Linked DNA regions of Homo sapiens: region 1 is linked to region 2. The links are contacts of gene promoters, found by promoter capture Hi-C in human tissues and cell types (Jung and others, 2019). All regions are on one chromosome and are shown on one strand. The core of a region is centred on a gene start or on the middle of the fragment in contact, and the rest is flanking DNA. Distances in the headings are between cores, read along the strand shown.

The links. Contacts are between HindIII fragments. The study calls those that stand out against the background at their distance.
Region 1: a fragment that was not itself captured here is called in contact with the fragment with the promoter of CCNH in region 2 in 1 of the 25 tissues and cell types used here (dorsolateral prefrontal cortex).

What each region holds. Positions count from the first base shown.
Region 1 is chr5:88,181,489-88,188,613 of GRCh38, forward strand. It overlaps a transcript of TMEM161B not described here. Among named protein-coding and RNA genes, the nearest start is that of TMEM161B, 84 kb to the right of the region's middle. The HindIII fragment of the contact is 4,155 bases long and covers 1,834-5,988 here.
Region 2 is chr5:87,410,268-87,417,231 of GRCh38, forward strand. CCNH (cyclin H) reads right to left here and starts at 2,663. Exons shown (of 9, transcript NM_001239.4): 1 at 2,411-2,663; 2 at 957-1,079. The coding sequence starts at 2,527. LOC105379066 (a long non-coding RNA gene) reads left to right here and starts at 2,715. Exons shown (of 3, transcript XR_948543.1): 1 at 2,715-2,794. RefSeq lists enhancers at 2,290-2,419, 2,450-2,619. The HindIII fragment of the contact is 10,921 bases long and covers 1-6,964 here.

The sequences.
Region 1 (7,125 bases), core at 2,661-5,160, 770 kb after region 2:
TTTTAGGTACACATACACAATCATATTGAATAGTGAATAATGACAGTTTTGACCCTTCTAATCTTAATGTTTGTTTGTTTTGATCTTGCGTTACTTTACTGCCTAGGACCTCCAGTACAAGACTAAATGGAAATGGTCATAGTAGGAATCCTTGTCTCATTTCTGAACACAAGAGAAAAGTCTTCAATAACATGCTTCATGATTAATGTTTGCTGTTGGTTTTTAGTAGATAATCTTCCTCCAATTAAGGGTGCTTCTCTCTCATCCTAATTTTCTGAAAAGCTTTATTGTGAATGGCTATTACATTTTGTCAAATGCTTTTCCTGAATCATAAGATTTAGTTTAGCTGTTTGCATTTTTTCCTCTCAATCTGATAAATTATGTTAACTGGCTTTTAGATGTAAAATGAACCTGGATTAAATCTCACTTGGTATGATGCATATATCACTAAATTGGATTAGCTAATATTTTTACTAAGGGTATTTACATCTATAATTATGAGAGAGATTGGTTTTTAATTTGTTCCTTTCTTGTAATATGCCTGTCAGATTCTGCAGTCAATATTACCTTGCCTTATAAAAAGAGTAAGGAACCATTCACTCTGGAAGAGTTTGTGCAAAATTGTTATTATTTCTTCCTCAACTATTGGGCAAAATTTGCAGATAAAGCCATCTGGGCTATGAATTTTCTTTGTACAGAAATTTTTAAATAATGGATTTCCTTTACTTAAGATTTTTCTATTTCTTCTTTTGCTGCTTTGGTAATTGCCTTTTCCAATAAATGTTTCGCTTCATTTGTCAAATTTATTGATGTAAGGCTGTTCATAATACAGATTATCTCTTATCCAAAATGCTTGCAACCAGAAGTGTTTCAGATTTGGGGTTTTTTTCTGGTTTTGGAATATTTTTGCATTATACTTACCAGTTAAGCATTCCAAATCCAAAAGTCTGAAATCCAAAATGCTCCAATTAGTACTTCCTTTGAGCATCATGTGGGCACTCAAAAAGTTTTGGATTTTGGAGCATTTCAGATCTCATATTATCAAACTTAGGATGCTCAACCTATATACTCTTCATTTTTCAAAATTTCATTATAATATTTCAAGTAATATTCTTGGAAGGTTGAATTTTACAATGAACACACATGTATGCTTCACTTGGATGCTACATATTTTATGTTTTAAAATGTATCTATCAACTCATCACTCATAGTTCTAGCAATTTATCTTATTTCGGTGGGAATTTTTAAGTAAATTACAGATATAGTTCCCCCTAAATATTCTTTGCATATTATTCGAGTTCAATATGTTTAGTTTTTTTCCTCATAGTTTTTTCCTTTTTGGGTAAAATTTACATTAGATGAAATGCACAAATTTTAAGTGGACATCCATTGAATTTTGACAGAGGCATATACCCATTTAACCCAAATCCTACAAGATATAAAACATTCTCATTCCAGAAAGTTTCCTTATGCCTCTTCCCAGTCAATCCCTACCTCTACCCTTCCTGAAAGTCAACCATTCTTCTGATATTTTCCACCGTACATTAGTTTATTCTAGAAATTTATATAAATTGAATTTACAGTATGCACTCTGTTTTAAAAGACTTATTTCAGCATATTAAAGATTCATCCAGGTTTTGCATAAATCATCAGTTTGTACTTTTTTCACTGCTATTATTCCATTGTATATTTATACCAGTGTGTGTACATATTCTACTACTGATAGACACCTGGGCTTTTTTTAGTCTGGGACTACTTTGAATAAAGCTGCTATGAACATTCTTGACCTTTTTGTAGATGTGTTTTTCTCTTGAGTAAACACATAAATGTAAAATTGCTGGGTCACAGGATAGGTATAAATTTAGTTTTATAAGAAACTATTACAACTTTTTTGCAAAGTAGCCATGTCATTTTCATAGTAGTTGTACCACAAAGTATCAGAGTTCCAGTTGCATCATATCCTTGTCTACATTTAGTATAGTGGTATTTCATTTTGATTTTAATTAGCATATCCCTGATGACTAATAATGTTGAGTTACACATCTTTTAAAATTGCATGTGAATGGAAGCCTGTCTCTGAAAGGAATATTACTGGGGGAATAAAAATTCTCTAAGAAGAAATTAAAATCAGAAGCTGGGGACTTCCTCTTCCAATTAAGGTGAAATTAATAGGGAGCAGATTCATTCCTCTATTTTACAAAACTAAATAACTAAAGAAATTCTACTTGAAACCTTGATTGTTCCAGCTTACTGACTTGATTGTCCAGTCACAGCACAGGGGAAAAACTAAACAAAGCCCAGTGGTCTTCCTGAGTTGAGAATCTGGTAAGGCTAAGGGAACTACAATTGACAGAAAAGAGTACCAGAAAGGAAGGCTGCGGTGTGAGGAAGCTCTATCTATAGAGGTTGAAGGTTCCCTCACATCTTCAGCCAAGTTCTGACCAATGCATGCATTTGAGGAAATTTCTAAGTGTTGGGGAAAGAATCACCAAAAAGGACAGGCAGAATAATCCTCTGGATTCATACATGGATAGGAATAGTGTAATTCCTGTTCCCATTAGCCAAAGTAGGAAAACCTTTTAATACGTGGGGCATTGGTAAAGTATTCAAAAGGGTATTGCCTCAGTATGGGTAAAAATTAGCATGAAATTAAAGTCTGATCTCACCTTAAATACAAGCCTCAAAAGAATCAAAACTGCCTCCTTGGTTTCCTACTGACTTAGTTGGATCCCAGCACAAAGCTCAAGAATACAATTATGCACTGGTTAACGATGGAGATAGGTTTTGAGAAATGTGTCATTAGGCAATTTAATCATTGTGCAAACATCATAGGGTGGATTTACACAAACCAAGATGGTGCAGCCTACTACACATCTATGTTATATGGTATAGCCTATTGTTCCTAGGCTACAAACCTGTGCAGTTTCTTACTGTCCTGAATACTGCAGGCAATTGTAACACAATTTTAAGTATTTGTGTATCTCACCATAGCTAAACAGAAAAAGTATAGTAAAAATACAGTATAAAAGATTAAAAATAGTATACCTGTCTAGGGTACTTACCATAAATGGAACTTGTAGGACTGGAAGTTTCTTTGGATAAATCAGTGAGTGATGAGGGAAAGTGAAGGCCTAGGACATTACTGCACACTACTGTGGACTTACAGACACTGTATACATAGGCTACACTAAATTTACAAAGATATTGTCTTTCTTCAATAATTAATTAAACTTAGCTTACTGTCACTTTTTACTTTATAAACTTTTTATTTTTCAATTTTGGGTTCTTGTAATAGCTTAGCTTAAAACACAAATACACAGAGCTGTACAAAAATATTTACTTCCTTTATATGCTTATTCTATATGCTTTTTACTATTTTCAAAGCTTTTTATTTTTATTTTTTAAACTTTTTGTTAGAAAACAAGACACACCTGCATTAGCCTAGGCCTGCACAGCATCAGAATCCTCAATATCCCTGTCTTACCCTCTACATCTTATACCACTGGAAGGTCTTCAGGGGCAGTAACAAGCATGGCACTGTCATCTCCCATGATAACAATGTCTTCTTCTGGAATACCTTCTAAATGACCTGCTTTTTTCTTCTAATAAGTAGGACTATACTCTAAAGTAATAATAAAAAGTGTAACAAATACATGAACCAGTAACATAGTAGCTTATTATTGTTATTAAGTATAATGTGCTGTGTATAATTGTGTGCTAGGCTTTTATATGACTGCCAGTGCAGCAGGTTTGTTTACGCCAGCATCACCACAAACATGAGCAATGCAGTGCACTACAATGTTATGATGGCTACGACATCACTAGGTGATAGGAATTTTTCAACTCCATTATAATCCTATGGGACCACCGTTATATACCCAGTTCATTGTTGACCAAAAAGTTATTATGTAGTACATTACTCTATTTAAGGAAAAAAATACCTTGTACTCAACAGGCAAAACTCATAATGTCTGGAATCCAGTCAACGATTTTCAGTGATGCAAAGAAGCAGGAAAACATGACCCACAATGAAAAGAAAAATCATTCAATAGACACAAGATAAAATTAGTAGACAAGAACATTGAATCTGCTATTATAACTATATTTTATATGTTCAAGAAAGTAGAGGAAAGCATAAACGTATTTTTAAAGACTCAATTTGAACTTAGTTCTAAAGGTTTTTTAAAATGTCTGAGATTGAAAATTTCACTGAATTAGTTAAATACCAGACAGGATGCTGCCAAAAATAAAAAGACAAATTGAAAACATAGCATAGCAATAAAAACTATCCAAAATGAAACACAGAAAGAAAAAAGAAACCTGGAAAAAAATGAACAGAGCAACAATGAGTTGTGGGACAAATTCAGTCAAACAGACCAAAAAATGTTTGTATTGCTTTACAAGTTAGCAACAAATACAGCTGAATAATCATAAACATGGCATTTCTAATTCTCAAATTGGAGGGACAAGACCAGGAAAATGCTCTTCCACTTAAAACACATTTGTTAAAACTGAAATCCACAACTTCTGTCAAGACCTTCAATATTCTCAAGCAAAATCGACACCTATAAAGAGTCAAAGAAAACTATTAATAGTATCAAGTTTACTCCACATGTCTGAGTATGTAACTGAAAGGTCTTACATGTATTTATACAGGCAGTGCTTTTACTAAACATTTTATGTAGCCATCCTAGGCACTTTTAAGAATATAACACCCTTTAAACACATTCTTTTGCAGAAACAGATGTCAAGAAAATTGTAAAGTCCAACGATGCATTGCAATCAAATTTCTCCTCTTTCCTCAGGAGGAAAAACTAGTCAGCCTTTAACGTGGCCTGAAATAAAAAGCCAATGATCAAAGAACCTGAATGAACCCAAGTAATAAGAAACATAAAACAATACCAAGGATCATCATAATCGAATTGCTAGAGGTTGAACACTTTTTCATGTGCTTAATGGTCAACTGTGAAGTGCCTATTCAAATGTCTCACCCATTTCCTAATCTATTTTTTTTAATTCTTTATATATCCTGATTCCAGTCTTTTGTCTCGTTTTGCAAGTATTTTATTTCAAGTTTTAACATGTCTATTTCCTTTTTTTGATGAGCATAAGTTTTTAATTTCTATGAAATCTTTTATTATTAAAAACCATTTTATGGGGGCCAAGTGCGGTGGCTCACACCTGTAATCCCAGGAATTTGGGAGGCCAAGGCAGGTGGATTAGCTGAGGTCAGAAGTTCGAGACCAGCCTGGCCAAAATGGTGAAACGTCTCTACTAAAAAAAAAAATTAGCCACACGCCTGTACTCAGGAGGCTAAGGCAGGAGAATTGCTTGAACCCAGGAGGCAGAGGTTGCAGTGAGCTGAGATTGTGCCACTGCACTCCAGCCTGGGCAACAAAGTGAGACTCTGTCTCAAACAACAACAACAACAACAACAACAACAAACCAATTTTATGGTTAATACTTTGTGTCCTAAGAAATCTCTATCCACCACTAATTGCCAAACTATGTTGTAGCTTTTACATTTGGCTCTTGAATTGATTCTTGTGTAAAGTATGAGGTGGGGATTGAGGTTCATTTTTTTAAAATGTGGACATCCAATTATTCTAGCACCAGTTGTTGCAATGACTCTCCTTTCCCCATTGTATTGCTTTGACACCTTTGTCAAAAATTAAATGAGTGTGTAAGTATGAGACTATTTCTCAGCTCTCTCTTTCATTGATCCATTTGTTTGTCTTTATGGCAGAATCACAACATCACTTTATAGTAAATCTTCAAATCCTCTAACTTTTTCCATTGCAAAATACTTTGGACAATCTAAGTACTTTACATTTCCATATAAATTTAAGATCAGATAGAAAACTTTTGTTTGAATTTGGTGAAACTATTATTTGGATTGTGTTGAATTTATATAACATTTGTGTTAATTTATATAACATTTATACAACATTGAGTCTTCCAATACATTCATGTGAAACATATCATTTACTTATGTCTACTTTAATTTCTCTTAACATTTTGTAGAGTTCAGTGTACAGGTCTTATACATGTTGGTAAAAAGCTACTTCTAACTTGCTTTTTGACACTATTGTAACAAGAATTACTAATTTTTCAAGTGTTCATTGCTTGTATTCTTACTTTTTAAATGTCTGTAGTCATCTCATATTTTGATTACTGTTTTTTAATTAGCATTGATATGGGTTACTGTTTTTATTTCTCCTTGAACCAATTTTGATAAGAATATAATCAACTTCATTAATCTTTTGGAACAATCGTTTTTAGCTTAATTTTCTCTATTATACATTTGTGTAGTATTTCATTGGTTTTTGCTGAATTATTCCTTTAATTCTACTTTCCTTAGGTTTGATGATCTCTTATAGCTTCTTGAATGGGAAACTTTAAATTTTGTTCTACAATGGGTTAAATAGCATCAAAATTTGATGTCATGTTCTTTACCTTTCAAAATACTTCATAGTTTCTTTTTATTTGCTCTTTAAACAATGAACTATATAGAAATAGAATGCTTAAACTTAAGGCAGTTGAAATTTTGTTCTCTTTCTTATCATTTCTAGCTTAATTCCATGGTGGTCAGAAAACATTACAAATGATTTCAGTATTTTTACTTTTTTTTTGGAGACATGGTTTCACTCTTGTTGCCCAGGCTGGAGTAGAGTGGCATGATCTCAGCTCACTGCAACCTCCGCCTCCCAGGTTCAAGCGATTCTCCTGCCTCAGCCTCCTGAGTATCTGGGATTACAGGTGTGTACCACCATGTCCAGCTAATTTTTGTATTTTTTTTTTTTTTTTAGTAGGGACAGGGTTTCACCATGTTGGCCAGGCTGATTTCAAACTCCTGACCTCAGATGATCCACCCGTCTCAGCCTCCCAAAGTGCTGCGATTACAAGAATGAGCCAATGTGCCTGGTCGTCTTTTTGATCATTTCTAGCTTAATTCCATGGTGATCAGAAAAACATTACAAATAATTTCAGTATTTTTACATTTCTTAATCTATTTTTTATTTGAATGGCCCAGAATGTGGTTGTGATGGTTAATATTGAGTGTCAACTTGATTGGACTGAGGATACAAAAAGTATAAAGGATAAAATAAAGCAGGCAGAAGAAAG
Region 2 (6,964 bases), core at 1,413-3,912:
GATTTTTTCTTCATTTGATAAGATCACTTAAATTTACTGCCTCATTTTACAGTTCTTTTGTAAGAACAAGCCAAATCTGAAGATATAAACTAATCAAGTATACCTAAAACTCTCTCTGAATCTTTGACATCTCAGATGAAAAAAAATTGTAAATTCTATGGACTTAATATTTTCAACATACTTCAATTTTTTTTTCAACTATAAAAATGGAGATAATTTCCTAGAAAATTATTCTCTACTGGGTCGTAAGCTAGTCACGCTGTATAACTTTAAAACTTAACAGACTTTTACTTAAGATATACTTTTATATTTGGTCTTCACAACAAACCAGTGAGAGAATAACGTAACAACATTTTGAACACCCTCCCACTCTACCTTTTTTATCTTTCTGCTTTTTAATCTCAGCTACCTGTTTCTCCTCACGGTTGCCCACCCCAGCAAAAAACAAATAGGTCCTCAGAACCATACATCTGAAACAATAAGGCAATCTTTTTCACCAAAGATAAAACTCCAGCTTCTACTAATCAAGGCTTAAAAAAATCTTATGGTATCAGTTTCAGCTGGGGCATATGATTACCAATGATGAATGAATGCATTATTTCAAACATTTATTGGGTGTCACAGAGTTGGAAAAGCAGTAGTCTATGTTCTAGTCCCAGTCCTATGGCTCATTAGTTGAGAACTTAGAGGAAAGTAATTTATTTTTTTTCTTTCTTTATGACATTACCTGACCTCAAATTTTTTTCTGACCACAAAGTGAGACTTGAAATACTTTTGAAGATATGATACAGCAACTCATGATTTAAGGCCTGTATTGAAAAATATATAATGTGCCAAAAACTAATTAATTGTAACTAAGGTGAATTTTTAAGACTTGAGTGGACAGGGAATTTAGAAGAGGTCAAATTTCACAAGCCAACTAAAGGACATTATATTTCATCACCACTGTAACTTACCACAACAGATCTTGGCATTGCTGGCTTAAACACCGAACAGAATTCCAATAACCTTTTCTCATAGTATTTGCAGAGTGTCATTTCTTCATGAGGCTCAAGAAAGACTGGATCATTCGGAAGAACCTTTAGATCAACAATTACAACACAAGTTCAATGAATTCAATGAATTAAACAATTGTAAAACATTTTTCTCTATCTAGATTAAATTTAGTTTATATATCCAACGAAGGGTATATATCACGCCTCATTTTCTTTATAGATTCGCTAATCATTACACAAAATAGCTGTAGGAAAATATTTAATAAACTAAAACTGTACCATCATTTCACGACTTTTCGGAATGTCAGCTAGACCTTTGCTTCATTAAAGTATAAACAATCATGACAGGCTGTGTGCACATGCTCACAGTTGTGATATCATTATTTATAAATTAAAAAGTAGACAGACTTTTTAAAATATGATTGGAAAGCTTCCAACATCCGTTTCTCGGTCAGTCATTACGTCACAAGTTGTAAAAAAACAGCAAATGTTTCAATAAATTTCTGTTATTTTAAGCTACCCAGTTTGTGGTGATTTTTTTAAGGCAGCCCTTAGGAAACTAATTCAGGTGCTAAAATCAGTGATATGAAATAGATGTGAATTAAAGGTAGAAAGTAAAGTAACTCAGTATCGGTAATTTGGAGGCACTGAACACTTGCTGGAGTGGAGCTTGCAGGAAAGATTAAACCAGTCCGAGAGCTGTAACAGAAGGAACTTGGCTAGCGGGCCATAGTCCAAACCATCTTCAGTCACTTGGTTTGTACTTGGTCTCTGGTCTCCCTCCCTCATCCAACCCATTCACCACGAGGTTGCTAGAGCGCTGTTTCCAGAACGGAAATCTGATAAGGTTAGCTTCCCATTTTAAATATTTCAAAGGTTCCTCATCCTTTCAGTGGAAATGTTAAACGCCTCACTTCCACTTACAAGTTCCCTTCCTACCCTCCCCAGCCATTCCTGCACAGGTACTCAACTTCGGCCACATACGACCACAAACACGTCCACGCACCATCTCTGTAACTTCTGACCTCCCTCCCACTCTGAACGGTGGTTCTGACTGCCTGGAACTTCCTTTCCCATTTTCTCCGCATTGGCTACTGGGAAAAACCTTCCCCAACATCATCTCTTGACAAGTGAACGGCTCTTGCCACGCACTACCTTAGCACACTACTTACTCTCTTCTTCACTACGTTACAAAGACTGGTTACTTGTCTGCCATTCGACGACGGGGATGGCGTTGTTCGTCTTTGTACCCACGGAACCTGGCAAGGTGCTCGCTTATTTTGATAGAAAAACGCACTCCGCGCCGCAGAGGCAGAGAAACGACGGAGCGAGATTGTCCTGGGAGCCAGAAGAGCTCCCGCAGCTGCTCAGAATTTAGTGACCGGGCAACTGGGCAACCGTTGGGAAAACCTCACCTTCCCGTTGGCCACGGCTTTGCATCTGAATTTGCGGTTGGCGTCAGCCCGCAGTCTTGCCAGCTGCTCCTCGCTGGAGAAGGTCCAGTGCCGCTTCTGACTACTGTTGTGGTACATTATGGAATCGTGACCAGGTCCAGAGGGTCTGCAGACGAGAACCCAAACGCATCAGCGTCCTGGCGTAAAACACCCGTACCCCCACCGAAGATCTCGCGGAAGCCTAGGGCGTCCGGCTAGCCGGCGCTGGCGCGCTGTCGTCACGATTACGCGGCCAGCCCGTACGCAGTTGCATTTCCGGAGCGGACTAGGAACAGACCGTATCCCGGGTTCGTTAGGGCGCCCACTGAGACGTAAGTGGGCGGAGCCTAGAGAACGCTCCTCTCGGTGAGTCTGGGACATAGCTCCGCCCCTTCCAGGCAAGATTTAAAGGAGAAGCGCCCGGCAAGAGTGTTCAAGGGGCATAAACTGAGGGTACGGAGTAGGCAGATGTAAATTCACAGGGGATAATCAGAAATGAGGAAAGGATTTCGTAGGGTGCTCATTTTTAAATAGAGGCCTCACTGAAGTTGACATTTGTGAAAAGGCTTGAAAGAGTTGAAATAGTAGGTTGATCAATCATGTAGGGAGATCACGGGGCCCAGAAAGAATAGGTAAGATCTTCAGGCAGAAGCATTCCTAGCCCTTTTCAGGAAGAGTTTGGAGACCAGTATTCTTGAAGCACTACCAGAAATCTCGGAGAATGGAACATGGCTGAAAAACTTGAAGCAGTGGATGCGTATTGGCCCTTACAGTTCTGCCACTTTTGTTGCCTTGTCTGTTCTTTCTCTGTGCTTTTTTTCCTTACCCTTCTGTTGATAACTAGCCAATCCTCTCCCTCTGTTTTCATCTCTGAAGCCAGGATGTATGGTAGTATTCGTTTTATTGAGATTCCCATTTTCATTGCCTCTAGGGAGCCTTACAGTAAGCTATCATGAAAATTAAGGTATTTACTATTTTTTAAATTAATAGGACTTTCAAAATTGCAGGTGAGGTTCAAAATTTACATGGATTCTGGTTTGTCCCATTTAGGCATACCTTATTCTCTCATGTATTTATTATATATCCAATCCGAAAAATGGATTTCCCTATGGCAAATAGCTTTTCTAAAAAATAAATAAATAAATAAAAAGAAAGAGAAAGATGATGAGACCTAGAGAATTTAGGTCTTGAAAAGCCCACACAGGTAAAAAGAAGAAGTGGCAGGATGACTTTAACTCTGCTTTCTATTAAAATGTTTTTAGGGGCTTAAGAAAGGGAAAGCCTTTTCTTTTTCATTTTTGTTGGGTACAGCTGAGGTTAGAGTTTGCCACAGTTATCTGAATTCCTCAAACTTATGCCATTTGTGGTATATAATTTTGGAGAGCCACACACTCAACATATGTGGCTAACCTGGTCTCATAAATTGGCTAAGAAAAGAGAGAAAAAGAGAAGATCAAAGGGCATGGCAAATTGATTACAATGAATTGTGAACAACCTAAAATGTTGCATGTTGGGGAAAGAATAATTTAAAAGAGAAAAACATAATGGTACAAAAGATAGGAAAATAAGTGATCTAGATAATTAAATGTCTATATAAAGTCTTAGCCTCATGACTGTTATATATATCATATAAATTCTTTTCATTTTGTTTTTCTGAAAGATATTTGACAACTCCTTAGTTTTATGTAAAGGATAATAAAAATAGGCATTTAAAAGAGTTGGCAGACTGTGATTTCCACAGAGATATGAGTAAAATTTCTGAATGTCATTTAGGAAAAATATATGAAAAACCTGGCATTGCTGGTGTAATTTTTTTTAAACCTTGAACAAATTTTAGTCCATGAAAATTGACATTGATCTTATTTTTCAGATGTAGTAGGAATTGGGCTCTGTCTAAATTAACTGTCTGAGGAATACAATTGTTGCTGATGCCCTAACATTAAGGCTCATGTATGGTTTTTCTTACTAAGGTAAGCAGACTGGATGCTGTGACAGTCTCCTACTCAGCCTGTTGTGCGACAGTGTTTCTTTGCTATTGCTACCACAGGAGGCACACTGGAATGCAGAACTTGTGCCTTTACCTATTTCCATTTCTAGTTTCAACTAAAAAGTAGCAAGTGTTTCTCTTCACTTCTATTATTTTTACTTATTTATTTATGGAGAATTTCAAATATAAAGAATACAGAGAAACATATTTCAAAAATTATCAATACATGGCCAGTTCCCTTCTACCCTCCACCCACACCTCCATTAGGTTTTTTTCTTCTTCTTCTTCTTCTTTTTTGAGACAAAGTCTTGCTCTGTCACCCAGACTGGAGTGCAGTGGCACAATCTTCGCTCACTGCAACCTCCGCCTCCTGGGTTAAAGCCATTCTCCAGCCTCAGCCTCCTGAGTAGCTGGGACTACAGGCTCATGCCACCATGCCCAGCTAATTTTTGTATTTTTAGTAGAGATGGGGTTTCACCATGTTGGCCAGGCTGGTCTAGAACTTGTGGCCTCAAGTGATCCGCCTGCCTGGGCCTCCCAACTCCATTAGTTTTAAATCACAATGTCCCTGCTACTAAATGAAGATATTTCAAACAAGAACAAACCAACTAACCAGACAGAACCTATTCTTCCTAGAAGACATAGGGAAATTCACAGCTTGTTGACAAAGATATCACTATTTCATTAGACACTACTCAGAAGTGAAATGTTAAGAAATATTTCAATGACTTTTAAAAGTAAATACAATCTCTTTTATTGTGCTGCAGTTGTTAAATTGTGCTATGGTATGTACTTGTAGACAAATTCCAAATATTTTGACTTGCAGGCATTACCTGTAAACTAAGGGTTACCAATCAGAGATTAGGTGATGCCAAGCAGGTGTCATCTGTTTGGCCACCACAGAAATGTCCTGTACTTATCCACGTGCTATTCCAAAATTTCCCATAAGAGTATTAGGATTTCCTTTCTCTTGCTTCAGGACAGTCTTCCTTCTTTGCGGTCTACCTAGTGATCTTAATGTTTAGGGAAAAATAAAAGTAAAAAGGTCATATTGCCTGATCTTAGGAGAAAAGGAAGAAAAGGGGAATTAAAAGGTTGTGGGAGTGACCAGTAAATATGTTTGCAACTGAAATAATTTTGCAGTCTAATATAAAACATCTTATAAAGTGGCCAGATTAATTTGTAGTCCTCATTTCCCAAACACATCAGCATACTCACGTTCACACCATTTCTGATTGCAGGGCCACTCACACACACACACACACACACAAAAGGGATAGAAGAGACCAAACCACATCTATGCTCACAAAAACACACAATATCTTTCTTACTTTAAAATCTAACATAAAACTGTATGCCTTCAGCTACTGACATGGATTCGTGACATTTAAAATACAGCTTTACAATGAGTATTTAATAACCCTTTGCAATTGTATTTGGTTAATACACAATTAACAAATTTGTATTTGCAGCATTGGCTGCAAAATCCTTTCTTAGTTTTATTCTCAGATGTCAAGTTACAACTAAGAGAAGAAAAGGAGTCGCCTGAAGCAAGTACCTGGTTTCTAGAAAATAGAATACTACTAAAGGAAAAGAAATAAGAAGAAGAAATAGCATTTAAAAAATATCGTTGATCTATATGTGACCCCCTCAAAATTGAAATGTTTTTTATTTTGCTTTAAGACTATTTCAAATTAAGGCATAAAGAAGACATGACAACATACTAAAGAGAAAATCCTATAAAGCCATCTTCAATTCAGCAAAAATTAGTAAATCACTATACACAAGGCCTAGTACTAATTGTTAGGTGGTAGTGATACGGTGATGGGGTCACAAAAATGACTATCTCATAGTTCTTGTCCCAGGATCCTTGGACTATAGTAGAATTATGGCATGTACGAATACAATCCCCTCTCAATGACAGTAACCTTGGATAGGGCTGACACACACTCTCTCCTTTGACCAAAACTTTAATCAGGCTTTTCTCTGAGTCCTCTGCTTGACTAAGCCTGATCTTGGGCTTTCCTCTCTATTCTAGTACAGATGCTTCTCGACTTAGGATGAAGTTACGATGCAAAAAAAAAAAACAAAAAACCCATCATAAGTTGAAAATATTCCAAGTGGAAAGTGCACTTAATATAGCTAACCTATTGAACATCATGGCTTGGCCTAGCCTACCTTAAACATGGTCCTTGTGACCGCATGGTTGACTGAGAGCTGCGGCTCACTGCCACTGCCCAGCATCAGGAGCGGGTTTGTATTGTAAATCACTCGCCCGGGAAAAGATCAAAATTCAAAACTGGAAGTGTTTCCATTGAATACATACGGCTTTCGCACCATCATAAAATCAAATCATTGTAAGTTGGAGACCATCTGTAGAATCCAGTTGGAACAAGAATCCTGACACGTCACATTAATGAATATCCCCCACCCTTGGTATCAGACCACCCTCAATATCTTATCACCCTGACCTGCCTTCAGCAATAATCCTATCAGGTCAGTTTAGCCAGAAATCCTTTATCCTTGGTGTTTCCTCTTAGTAATTTTCC